Linked DNA regions of Homo sapiens: regions 2, 3 and 4 are each linked to region 1. The links are contacts of gene promoters, found by promoter capture Hi-C in blood cells and fetal thymus (Javierre and others, 2016). All regions are on one chromosome and are shown on one strand. The core of a region is centred on a gene start or on the middle of the fragment in contact, and the rest is flanking DNA. Distances in the headings are between cores, read along the strand shown. Region 1 holds the start of IPPK (inositol-pentakisphosphate 2-kinase). Region 2 overlaps IARS1 (isoleucyl-tRNA synthetase 1). Region 3 overlaps CENPP (centromere protein P). Region 4 has its middle 36 kb from the start of LINC00475.

What was found. Contacts are between HindIII fragments. The CHiCAGO score rates a contact against its expected background, and 5 or more counts as called.
Region 2: a contact is called between a fragment that was not itself captured here and the fragment with the promoter of IPPK in region 1, in 2 of 17 cell types (megakaryocytes and endothelial precursors). The highest score is 9.3, in megakaryocytes.
Region 3: a contact is called between a fragment that was not itself captured here and the fragment with the promoter of IPPK in region 1, in 1 of 17 cell types (M0 macrophages). The highest score is 5.7, in M0 macrophages.
Region 4: a fragment that was not itself captured here is called in contact with the fragment with the promoter of IPPK in region 1 in 1 of 17 cell types (megakaryocytes); the score reaches 5.0 in megakaryocytes.

What each region holds. Positions count from the first base shown.
Region 1 is chr9:92,668,881-92,671,580 of GRCh38, forward strand. IPPK (inositol-pentakisphosphate 2-kinase) reads right to left here and starts at 1,251. Exons shown (of 13, transcript NM_022755.6): 1 at 1,028-1,251. The coding sequence starts at 1,108. It overlaps LOC107987095 (a long non-coding RNA gene), which reads left to right and starts at 1,482. Exons shown (of 2, transcript XR_001746837.2): 1 at 1,482-1,793. RefSeq lists enhancers at 353-522, 1,263-1,712, 1,723-1,772, 2,527-2,700 and a silencer at 1,043-1,222. The HindIII fragment of the contact is 1,551 bases long and covers 1-1,426 here.
Region 2 is chr9:92,275,458-92,278,157 of GRCh38, forward strand. IARS1 (isoleucyl-tRNA synthetase 1) reads right to left here. Exons shown (of 34, transcript NM_002161.6): 9 at 2,406-2,466. Among named protein-coding and RNA genes, the nearest start is that of MIR3651, 16 kb to the right of the region's middle. The HindIII fragment of the contact is 1,968 bases long and covers 431-2,398 here.
Region 3 is chr9:92,350,157-92,352,856 of GRCh38, forward strand. All of the region lies in intron 4 of CENPP (centromere protein P), which reads left to right. Among named protein-coding and RNA genes, the nearest start is that of CENPP, 26 kb to the left of the region's middle. The HindIII fragment of the contact is 1,090 bases long and covers 808-1,897 here.
Region 4 is chr9:92,176,571-92,179,270 of GRCh38, forward strand. It overlaps the pseudogene PRSS47P. Among named protein-coding and RNA genes, the nearest start is that of LINC00475, 36 kb to the left of the region's middle. The HindIII fragment of the contact is 1,603 bases long and covers 450-2,052 here.

The DNA.
Region 1 (2,700 bases), core at 1-2,500:
AACAGAAGCAAGGCAGGACTCCACTGCCTACATCATCCCTGACAAGCTGTTCGACTCGGGCAATGCCCTTAACCTCTCTGATTTTCACTTTATTTATCTGTCCAAGGGATGACAATTATCACTTGCTAAGCATAACTTGATGGGTTCCTGCGTAACTGGTCTTTGCAACAATCCCACAAAGTGAATTCTACTACTAGTTCCACTTCACAAATGTAGACACTGAGATTCCTGTGCCTTTAACACCCATGCTCTAACTCCTCCCTACATGACACCTATCCTCGCCTCCCTCACCCCCCTCCCCCGTTCCAGCCGGCCACATTCCTGCGTGGTTGTACCAGACAGCAAAAGGTCAGAGAGATCTGGGCCCTCACAGAAACCCACACGCTTCACTCTTGGGATTCACCTTTGCGAGATCTTACTGCAGTTTCTAAAACTTTCACCCTCGTTGAATTCAGGTGAAAGCCTTCAAATTCTAAAAGGTTGAGAAGAGGACCTGTGGACAACATCCCCTTACTATTAACAGCACAGCAATTCCGTAGTCTCACGAGGCTGAACTCTTTTGGTGCTGAGAGTAACAGCACTGTGGGCACTCTGCTTCTTCCTCCAGTGCTGGCCGGGCCCTCCGTCCCAACCAAGCCTCCACCCCACTGCGGCCTGGCAGTCCGGCGGGCATCCAGGCGGGAGGCGGCACCGCGTGAGGCTGAGCGCGGCACCGACGGGGCGGGGAGGGGGATGTGGAACTGACTCTGACGGGGAACGGGAATACTGAGGGGACGACAGACCGGCCAGGAGAAGGATCTGGGGCAATGGGAGACTGACCCAGTAGAGAGGGGATACTGGGGTGATGAGGAACCCAAGCGGTAGGGGGGGATGCTGGAGGGTGGGGGAATTCCGGAGACCGGCCGGGGAGGAGGAAGGTACTGGGGGGACGTGGAACCGACCCTGTTGAGGAAACGGATAATGGGGGCGGGGTGATACCGGCCGTCGGAGTGAGGTACCGGACCTGCGCCGCACGTCCACCGCTCACCTGCGCGTGGGCCACCACCAGGCTCTTATTGCCCTCTCCGTGGTACCCCCATTCATTCTCGTCCATCTTCCCCTCTTCCATGCCCAGGCGCAGCCCTGGCGCCTCGCGGGCTAGGACTCGGGGACGCGAGCTGGGGGCCGCCCGCCTCGCTGGGAACCAGCCGCTGCGGTCGGGGGAGGAGCGCCTGTCAGCTGCCGCCCCCGCTCGACCCCGCCGCGGCGACTAGCAAGCTGTGGCCGCCGGAAGCCACGCCCCCGGCGCCTGCCATGACGGAGTCGGGCAATTCCGGGTTCGTGACACTTTCCTCACACCGATCGCGACGGTGGATGGGCCGGCGGCCATCTTAGGTACTGGTAGAGCGACTCATTTCCGGAACGCGGTCTTGGGAGCCGGAAGAGAAGCTTCCGGCCTCGGCGCCGGATGTGTAGCTGGCGGAAGGAGCCGGCGGCTTTTCGGCGCCCGGTAGTGACCGGCAGTCCCCGGGTAGCCAGGGTGTCTGGGTGTTGGGACCGCTTAGTCGCGAGACCCCAGCAAACCTCTTGGCGTCTCTGAGCCTCAGCTTTTGCTTCTGTAGAATAGGGTGTACTCATCGTACATTTCATGGGAATACCTAACGCAGTCATTTGGATGGTCCTGTGAGGTAGAAAACATTGTCCAACGTTCTACGCGAGGAAATGTGGCTGGGCCACAGGACTGGACTCCCCAGTCCCGCTTTTGCCTGAAGACTTCGAGGGACGCAGTTGGAGCGCAAGGCTCCTGCTTGGCGGTGAGGCAGAGGGCTAACGACCTTCCTTCTCCTAAATTCACTGATGCGGCGGCAAGAATGGCACCGCCTCGTAGAGCTACCGCATTTCCCAAACTCGTAGTCTCAGGACCACTTTATACTCATAAAAATGAGGGCCCCAAGCTTTTGCTAATGTGGGTTACAGCTATCGATGTTACCACATTCTAAGTTAAAATGCTTTAAAGTTTTTTGTTGTTTCGTTTAAAAGTAAACAGCCGGGCGCGGTAGCTCACGCCTGTAATCCCAGCACTTTGGGAGGCTGAGGCGGGCGTATCACCTGAGGTCAGGAGTTTGAGACCAGCCTGGCCAACATGGTGAAACCCTGTCTCTACTAAAAATACAAAAATGAGCCAGGTATGGTGGCGCAGGCCTGTAATCCCAGCTACTCCGGAGGCTGAGGCAAGAGAATCATTTGAACCCAGGAGGCGGAGGTTGCGGTAAGCCAAGATCGCGCCATTGCACTCCAGCGTGGACGACAGAGTGAGACTCCATCTCAAAAAAAAAAAAAAAAAAAAAAGTAAACATTACATTCCACGCCCACCACCAAAATAAAGGAGTGGTATTGTTTTACACTTTTGCAAATCTTTTTAAAATCTGACCTAATAGGTTCTCACATGTGCTTCGGCATTCGGTCTGCTGCAATATATTGCATTGGTTGACATACACATTGTGAAGAACATCTGCAGTTATGTAGTTCACAAAGAGAGGACCTGCAGACCCAACTTTGAGAACGGCTGGGCACCTTGCCAGGCCTTGGGAATTGTAGTGAAATCAGGCCAGTGACTCAGGAAAATGAGCTGAAGGCTTTGAGCATCTCTTTCCTCCATTTTAGGCCTCAAAAGGGAGGCTGGGGCAGGGCATGGTGACTCATGCCTGTAATCCCAGCATT
Region 2 (2,700 bases), core at 165-2,664, 390 kb before region 1:
CTTGAAAAATAACCATAAAATTTTAATTGTTGTAACCTAAATCACCTTGAAACATTTTAGAAGTTATAGTATGATAGGTGCTAAAACTTCGATAGTTTAAACAGAAAGACAGAATACATGGGTCCTTAGAATTACATGTATACTTAGTTACATGTTCTATACTTAGAAGCAGTATAGACAAAGTCACTGCATCTTGTCTCTCAGGGTCTACTTTGGGCCTACCCAGGCCATGGCTGGGCTGCTTCCACCCAGGTCAGTAGATACCAACCACCAGGAGCAGCAGTGCTGCTCCATAGGCAGTGTCCGCTGACTCAGCTTCCCTCGATATTTCACAACAGGTATATTTCAGTGAACATCAGATGATTCCGTCCTGGGTCAAACGATTTATAGTACTTGCCTAAAGTCACCGAAGGTTTCAGGTAGTTTAAGAAGCTTATTTAATGAGTAGGTGTTATTCAACTTAATACCTACCAAGTGCATATTCCAGACAGACCTCTACTTAACCTAAAGTTCCTGTCTAGTGTATCCATGTGCATTCTTTCAGGGGGTTGAGTTTTTGGGTTCTCAATAGGTTTTGTGATTCAGAAAGGTGAGAGTCACTGATCCAGTGGAAGAGATTTCAGATAATAAAAAAAATACAACATAAAACAAAGTATGTTAAGCTATATGATAGGAGAATGGAATGAAGTAATGACATTTTTCCAAGGGAGAAACCAAAGATGCATTTCAGAAAACTTTCAGAGGACATCTGAGTTCAGACCTGAAGGGTGAGTTAACTCAGCAGATATCAACATAAGAAAAAAATAAAGACTTTTAAGACAGTAGGAAAACTTAATTAAAGAAAGGCAGGGAAGCAGGAAAGGGAAGAGCCAGTTTGACTGAATAAAGGATATGTCTAAAGTAATGTGGGAGGATGTGGTCAGGAAGCAGCTCTGCCACATACCGACTGGGGAGGGCACGTCCTAATTGCTGGTAAATAACTAACGCCTGTAGGGAGGAATGGGATGAGGGCAGAACATATGGAAATCCACTGGGCAGCAACGTGGGAGGAGGAAGAAGGCTATCAAGTAGGCAACGAGAAATGTGGGAAAACACTCAAGAGGCACAAAAGTGAAAAGGCAGGTAACAGACACACCATGGATAGGGCCCAAACCACAGAGGTCTCCTTAATCAACCAGACTCTCCCCACACGGAACAGAAACAACTGAGGGTTCAGCGAACATTTTTTTCTGGGATGGGACGTAAGTGATATGTCCAGTTGATTATTATTTCCACATAAGGCCAGGTCTGCTCATTATCTCATTTCAAGACCTTTAAATAAGGACGGAGAAATTCCTCTTTGACACTATTCTTTCGGTGAGAGAGTGTGGGAGTGGGGACAGCAGGGTTTGCAACTGTAGCTGTGGATTCTCCACTGTCAGAAAATAAAACCACATAAAACAACTTTATGACTCTGAAGAAACTAAGGTGCTAAATGTATGAGCTCTGTCGTGGTGCCTAGATTTAAAACACCTGCCTCATTAACCTCCTTGAAATAAAATTGTGTTTACCTTTCCACATGATGTTTTACTGTGATTACTATCTTAACTTTGTCAAAACAAACAAACAAACAAAAACCTCAATAAATACCCTGGGTGATATGTAGACTACATGCAATAAAAATATACACCTAAAAATCCAATCAAATGTAAAATGATTCCTCATACAATTTGAGAAAAATATTCAAATAAAAAATCCCAGCTTGGCCAGGCACGGTGGCTCACAAGGTCAGGAGTTCAAAACCAGCCTGGCCAAGATGGTGAAACCCCATCTCTACTAAAAAGTACAAAAATTACAGCATGCCTGTAATCCCAGCTGCTCGGGAGGCTGAGGCAGGAGAATTGCTTGAACCTGGGGGGCAGAGGTTGCAGTCAGCCAAGATCGCGCTATTGCACGATATTTGCACTCCATCTCAAAAACAACAACAACAAAAAATCCCAGCCAGGTGCAGTGGCTCATGCTTGCAATTCCAGGAGTTCAAGACCAGCCTGGGCAGCATAGCGAGATTCTGTCTCTACAAAAAACTAAAAACTTAGCCCGGTGTGGTGCTGTGTGCCAGTAGTCCCAGCTACTCGGGATGGGGCAGGGGAATCACTTGAGCCCAAGAGGTCGAGGTTGCAGTGAGCTGTGATTGTGCCACTGCACTCCAGCCTGGGGGACAGAGGAAACCCTGTTTTTAAAAAAAAAAAAAAAAATCCTCTAAGACAAGAAAGCTACACAAACAATTTAATTTTGTTGGTACTAAAGCAGACTTTCTGGATTCAGGTACACTCATAAAAGTAATGTCAATTCCACTTCTCACAACACCCCAGCTATCAAATAATCAGATTGTGGAGAGCGCCCACAGTAGCGGTCCCTAAGCTTACCTTCAGGAAATAGTCAAACAGGGGCCTGTACTTCTTGCCTTTAAGATAGGCACCAGGAAATCTAGAAAAGGAGAAAGGCAAACTCACAATTAGATTAAAATCAAATATGAGGCTGCAGCCACATCAAGCTACCACTCCCCTCTGGTTTACTGGCTTCTTAGCCCTAGCCATTCATGCTGTAATGTGTGACTGCAAAGTACTTAGTATAGTATTAGTACTTAAAACTAAATTTGAATAATGCAAGCTTTTGGATAACAAAGTTTATTTCTTTTTAAAACTAAAGACACACATACAG
Region 3 (2,700 bases), core at 103-2,602, 320 kb before region 1:
GTTCGCTTTATACTTGAGAAGGAGACATTTGGAGTTATTTTTGTTTCCTGACTACTTTAGCTGAAATTGAAATGGGTTACTGCCAACATTTTATGAAAGAAATCCATGACATCTGTTTTACGTTTAGTGAAGTTTGGACTTTGCTTAGGAAAAATAGATAAATTACAGTCATTCTTACAGCTGTGAGAGCCAACACCCACACCCACACACAAAATTTCTTTCTATATGGAAAACTCTTATGTGCTGTAGTACAGTATCCTTTATGAAGATGCAAATGGAAGAATAAAGGAATTGTGAATTTTTTAAAGTTCATTGTAAAAGAACAGTCTTTTCTTCTGTGTGTATGTGTTTAAACTTGAGTCATCATAGCTTTTAAGATTATTTTCATGGCTTACTCCCTCATCACATGATTAAGAGTTTATTTTTTTGCTCACTTGTTTGATGGAGAACGAAATATCGTGTCACTGTGGCCTTTAAGCGTGAATGAACTAATTTCTCCTCTTTGTAGGCCCATACTTTTTGGAAAACAATTTTTTTCAGATGTTTAAATAATTTTTAAAATAGTTATTAGACTGACTTTTAACACATAATCTCCAGTGTTCCCTATAAACTACATGCTTATGCAGCTTTGTGTTAATTCAGCTATTATTTTATGTTCTTTGTTTTCAGTGAATCTACTTGGTTTTTTTGTTCACTATTGCCCAGGCTGGTCTCAAACTCCTAGGCTCAAGCAGTCCTCTTGCCTTAGCCTCCCAAAGTGTTTATCAGGAATTAGACTAGCACAGAGAACATGAAATCATTTCCTGAAGCTTGAGCTGACATCTGAAAAATGAGTAGGTGTGAACTAACACCTACTAACACCCTTTCTTGCCTTCTTTTAGATTATTTAACTTGTTTTCCTATTTTTTTACTGTGGCAAAATACTTACAAAATCTACCAACTCAACCATGTTAAAGAGTACACTTCAATAATAGTAAATACATTCATTATGTTGTACAACCATCACCACTATCTGTCAACATAACTCTTTCCTCTTTTAAAACAGAAACTTTGGCCAGGTGTGGTGGCTCACGCCTATAATCCCAGCACTTTGGGAGGCTGAGGCGGGTGGATCATGAGGTCAGGAGTTCAAATCCAGCATGGTGAAACCCTGTCTCTACTAAAAATACAAAAACTAGCTGGGCATGGTGGCACGTGACTGTAGTCCCAGCTACTTGGGAGGCTGAGGCAGGAGAATCGCTTGAACCTGGGAGGCGGAGGTTGTGGTGAGCCGAGAGCACCACTACACTCCAGCCTGGGTGACAGAGTGAGACTATCTCAAAAAAAAAAAAAAAAAACCAGAAACTTTGTACCCATAAACAATAACTCCCACTTCCTCCCTCTCCTCATCCACCATTCTACTTTTTGTCTGTGTGATTTTGATTAATACTATCTAAGTATTAATCTAAGTACCTCATATAAGTAGAATCATACAGTATTTGCCTTTTTTCTTTAGATGGAGTCTCGCTCTGTCGCCCAGGCAGGCGTGCAGTGGTGTGATCTCTGCTCACTGTAACCTCTACCTCACCAGGGATTCTCCTGCCTCAGCCTCCCAAGTAGCTGGGATTACAGGCACCCGCTACCATGCCCAGCTAATTTTTATATTTTTAGTAGAGAAGGGGTTTTGCCATATTGGCCAGGCTGGTCTTGAATTCCTGACCTCAGGTGATCTAGCCATCTCGGCCTCCCAAAGTGCTGGGATTACAGGCGTGAGCCACTGTGCCTGGCCAGTATTTGCCTTTTTTGACTGGTTTATTTCGCTGAGTGTAATGTTGTCAAGGTTCATCCATGTGGCATAAGTCAGAATTTCTTTTTCTTTTTCTTTTCCTTTTTTTTTTTTTTTTTTAAGCACCACACAAGCTTTATTTGCACCATCTATATAAGATAGTCCTGGCCATGCACAGTGGCTCATACCTGCAATCCCAGCATGTTGGGAGGCCAAGGTGGGCACATCACCTGAGGTCAGGAGTTAGAGACAAGCCTGGCAAACATGGAGAAACCCTGTCTATACTAAAAATACAAAAATTAGCTGAGTGTGGTGGTGGGCGCCTGTATCCCCAGCCACTCGGGAGGCTGAGGCACGAAAATCGCTTGAACCGGGGAGGCGGAGGTTGCAGTGAACCAAGATTGTGCCACTGCACTCCTCTGGGTGACAGAGCAAGACATCATCTGAAAAAACAAAACCAAAACCAAAAAAAACTAAGATAGTTCTGTGAATCTGTCCCATTGAGAGAAGACAGGGCCTTTTCTCTCAAGCCTGTTGCTTAAAGCCTGTGTGTGTGTGTGTGTGTGTGTGTGTGTGTGTGTGTGTATACATATATATATATATATATATATATATATAATATAACGGGGAGTTTATTAAATATTAACTCACATGATCACAAGGTCCCGTAATAGGCCGTCTGCAGGCTGAGGAGCAAGGAGAGCCAGCCTGAGTTCCAAAACTGAAAAACTTGGAATTCAGTGTTCAAGGACAGGAAGCATCCACCACAGGAGAAAAATGTAGGCTGGGAGGCTAGGCCAGTCTAACCTTTTCATGTGTTTCTGCCTGCTCTATATTCACTGGCAGCTGATTAGATAGTGCCCATCCAGATTAAGGGTGAGTCTGCCTTCTCCAGCCCACTGTCTCAAATGTTAATCTCCTTTGGCAATACCCTC
Region 4 (2,700 bases), core at 1-2,500, 490 kb before region 1:
TGCTCAATTACTTTGTGCACCAGCCACTTCCCTTTTTCCGTCTCCACTGGGAGTCGAACCTCCCTCCTCCACGCCCCAGGAGCGCTGTTCCTGTACTTCAGAGAAGCCCTTGCTCCCTGACACTGTGGACACCAGGTGTAGTTTCAGCTCCTCTGAAGGCCTGGGTGCTTCCTGTGGCAGGAGCAACGTTGAGTGCAGACTGACCCCACTCCCTCCCAGCTGGCGGCCTCAGCTCCCTCAGCACCCCTAGTGTCCCCCCTACCCCTGCTTTCCTCCTAGGAGCCCACAGTTGAGATTCTTTGTGTGAGGTCCCAGGTTCCTGCCCTGGGAGTCAGACAATGAATCCTATGGAAAGGGCAAGCACTAAGGAGCAGGAGGGGCCTTGGAGGGCCGTGCGGGGTGGAGGAGGAGCAGATGACTCTTTTGTTGGGTTTGGTTTTGTGTTGCCAAGCTTGGTTTGGGGAATGGCAGTTGATAGGCAGAAAAGCCAGGATTAGGAACCATTTAGAGGGACAGTGGGCTAGGGAGAGGGAGGGTCAAGCATGGACACCTAGGCCGAGCAGAGAGAAGGGGTCGAGGGGCTCTGCGGTCATCACAGGGTCTGCCATGGGGCCCTGAGGGTAAGTGGCAGCAGGAGCCAGGTCTGTGGCAGCACAAGGGCTGCGCAGGGCCCAGGCAGGCCAGCAGCCCTCAGAGGCTTGGGTGGAGAGCAGGTGTGAGGAGCCAGCGCGGGGTCAGAAAGAGGAGTGAGCCTCATGATTTTGTCAATCCAGTTGATGAAGTAGGTGACCCTGGTGAAGATGCTGGGGTAGGCAGGATGCCGGCAGTCCAGGCCCCAGCTGGCCAGCCCCACCAGGACCCAGGCACTGGGGAGGTAGCAGACTAGAGGCCCCCCAGAATCGCCCTGAGAACAAAGAAAGAGGAGTTAGCTTTGGGGGATGAGTGTGTCTGAGACACCAGGTGGCAAGGTCGGACGTTCTGCGCCTCTGCTCTCTGAGTCAGGGTCCCGCTGCAGACCCACCAGATGGAAATCTCCAGGCATCAAGCTCCTGAGCTGACCCTCAGAGTGGACAATCATAGATCTGAATCTACCAACACGTGAACCCACCCTCTGCCCTCTACACCCAGGACAACACACTGCTTGAAGCCTAGAGGGGACAGCTGTATGTACAGGGCCTGAGAGGCGCTGGGCCTGCTAGCAAAGCACAGCCAGCTGAAACCTCTGTGCAGAGCGCAGCTCTTGTGAACCCTAAGCTGCAGCAGAACATCCCCTCTGGGCGCCCCGTCCTTTTTTGTTCATTTAGGCCTTTGGTTTTCTCTCAACTTTTTGGTAAAGTATCTTTAGAAAGTGCCCATGCCCAGGCCCTGTGGAGACAGCCCACATCACTAGGGAAGCAGGCAGGGGTCTCCAGAAAGTTGCTTGGAGTTACTGGAGTCCTGAAATGCTGTCAGGGTGGGATCATGCAGTTGAAAGCCCCCTATATCATGGGCCAAAAAGTGAGACCCAAAGAAAGGGTCTCAGCTGGGCACGGTAACTCACACCTGTAATCACAGCACTTTGGGAGGCTGAGGCAGGCGGATCACGAGGTCAAGAGATTGAGACCATCCTGGCCAACATGGTGAAGCCCTGTCTCTACTAAAAATACAAAAATTAGCTGGGCATGGTGGCGTGTACCTGTACTCCCAGCTACTCGGGAGGCCGAGGCAGGAGAATCGCTTGAACCCAGGAGGCGGAGGTTCCAGTGAGCCAAGATCATGCCACTACACTCCAGCCTGGCAACAGAGCGAGACTCCTTCAAAAAAAAGGAAAGAAGGAAGGAAGGAAGGAAGGGAGGGAAAAAAGAAAGGGTCTCATCTTCAGGGTGGTGGGAGGCAGGGCCCACAGCCGGCTCTTCCGCCCACTAGTCCAGGGTGCACCTGGGGCATCCAGTGCAGGCACTGCTCTTGGGAAACACGGGGAAAAGACAAACCCTGTCCCCCATGGTGCATAGATAAATAAGCCAACTGACCCTATGGAAGCGGGAGGACATTTCGTATCCATGGATCACAACAAGCTTTCCTGACCTTACACTCAAATAGGAAACAGAACCTACTTCTGCGAGGTCCAGAAGAGAGGGCCCAGTTGGCGCAAACCAGGAGAGGATGGGGCAAACCTTGTGGGAGGGAGTGAGGGGGCAGAGGGAGGTCTCAGAGCTGCAGAGGGGCAACTTGGAGAACTGTATGCTGGAGGGTGGGGGACACGTGACCTGTTTAAACCATCAGTCTGGTGCCATGTAGAGAAAGAAGTTGCTGAGCACCAGGTAGAGAGGAGGGACCAGGGAGGAAACTACAGGAGGGAAGAAATGGTCAGATTTGGGATGGTATTTTGAAGGAGGAGCCAAAGGACTTGTGGACTCTGGCCTTTTCTTACCAACCAGGGAAAAGGAGTGGAGACAAAAGGAAGAAGGCTAAGAACTCGGCTCTGGGGTCTCCAGCACTGAGAGGCCGGAAGGGCCCAGCCCCTCTCAGGCCCTGTACATACAGCTGTTCCTTCTAGGCTTCAAGCAGTGTGTTGTCCTGGGTGTGGAAGGCAGAGGGTGGGTCCACGTGTGATAGATTCAGATCCATAATTGTCCACTCTGAGGGTCAGCTCAGGAGCTTTGATACCTGGAGATTTCTATCTGGTGGGTCTGCAGTGGGACCCTGACTCAGAAAGAGGAG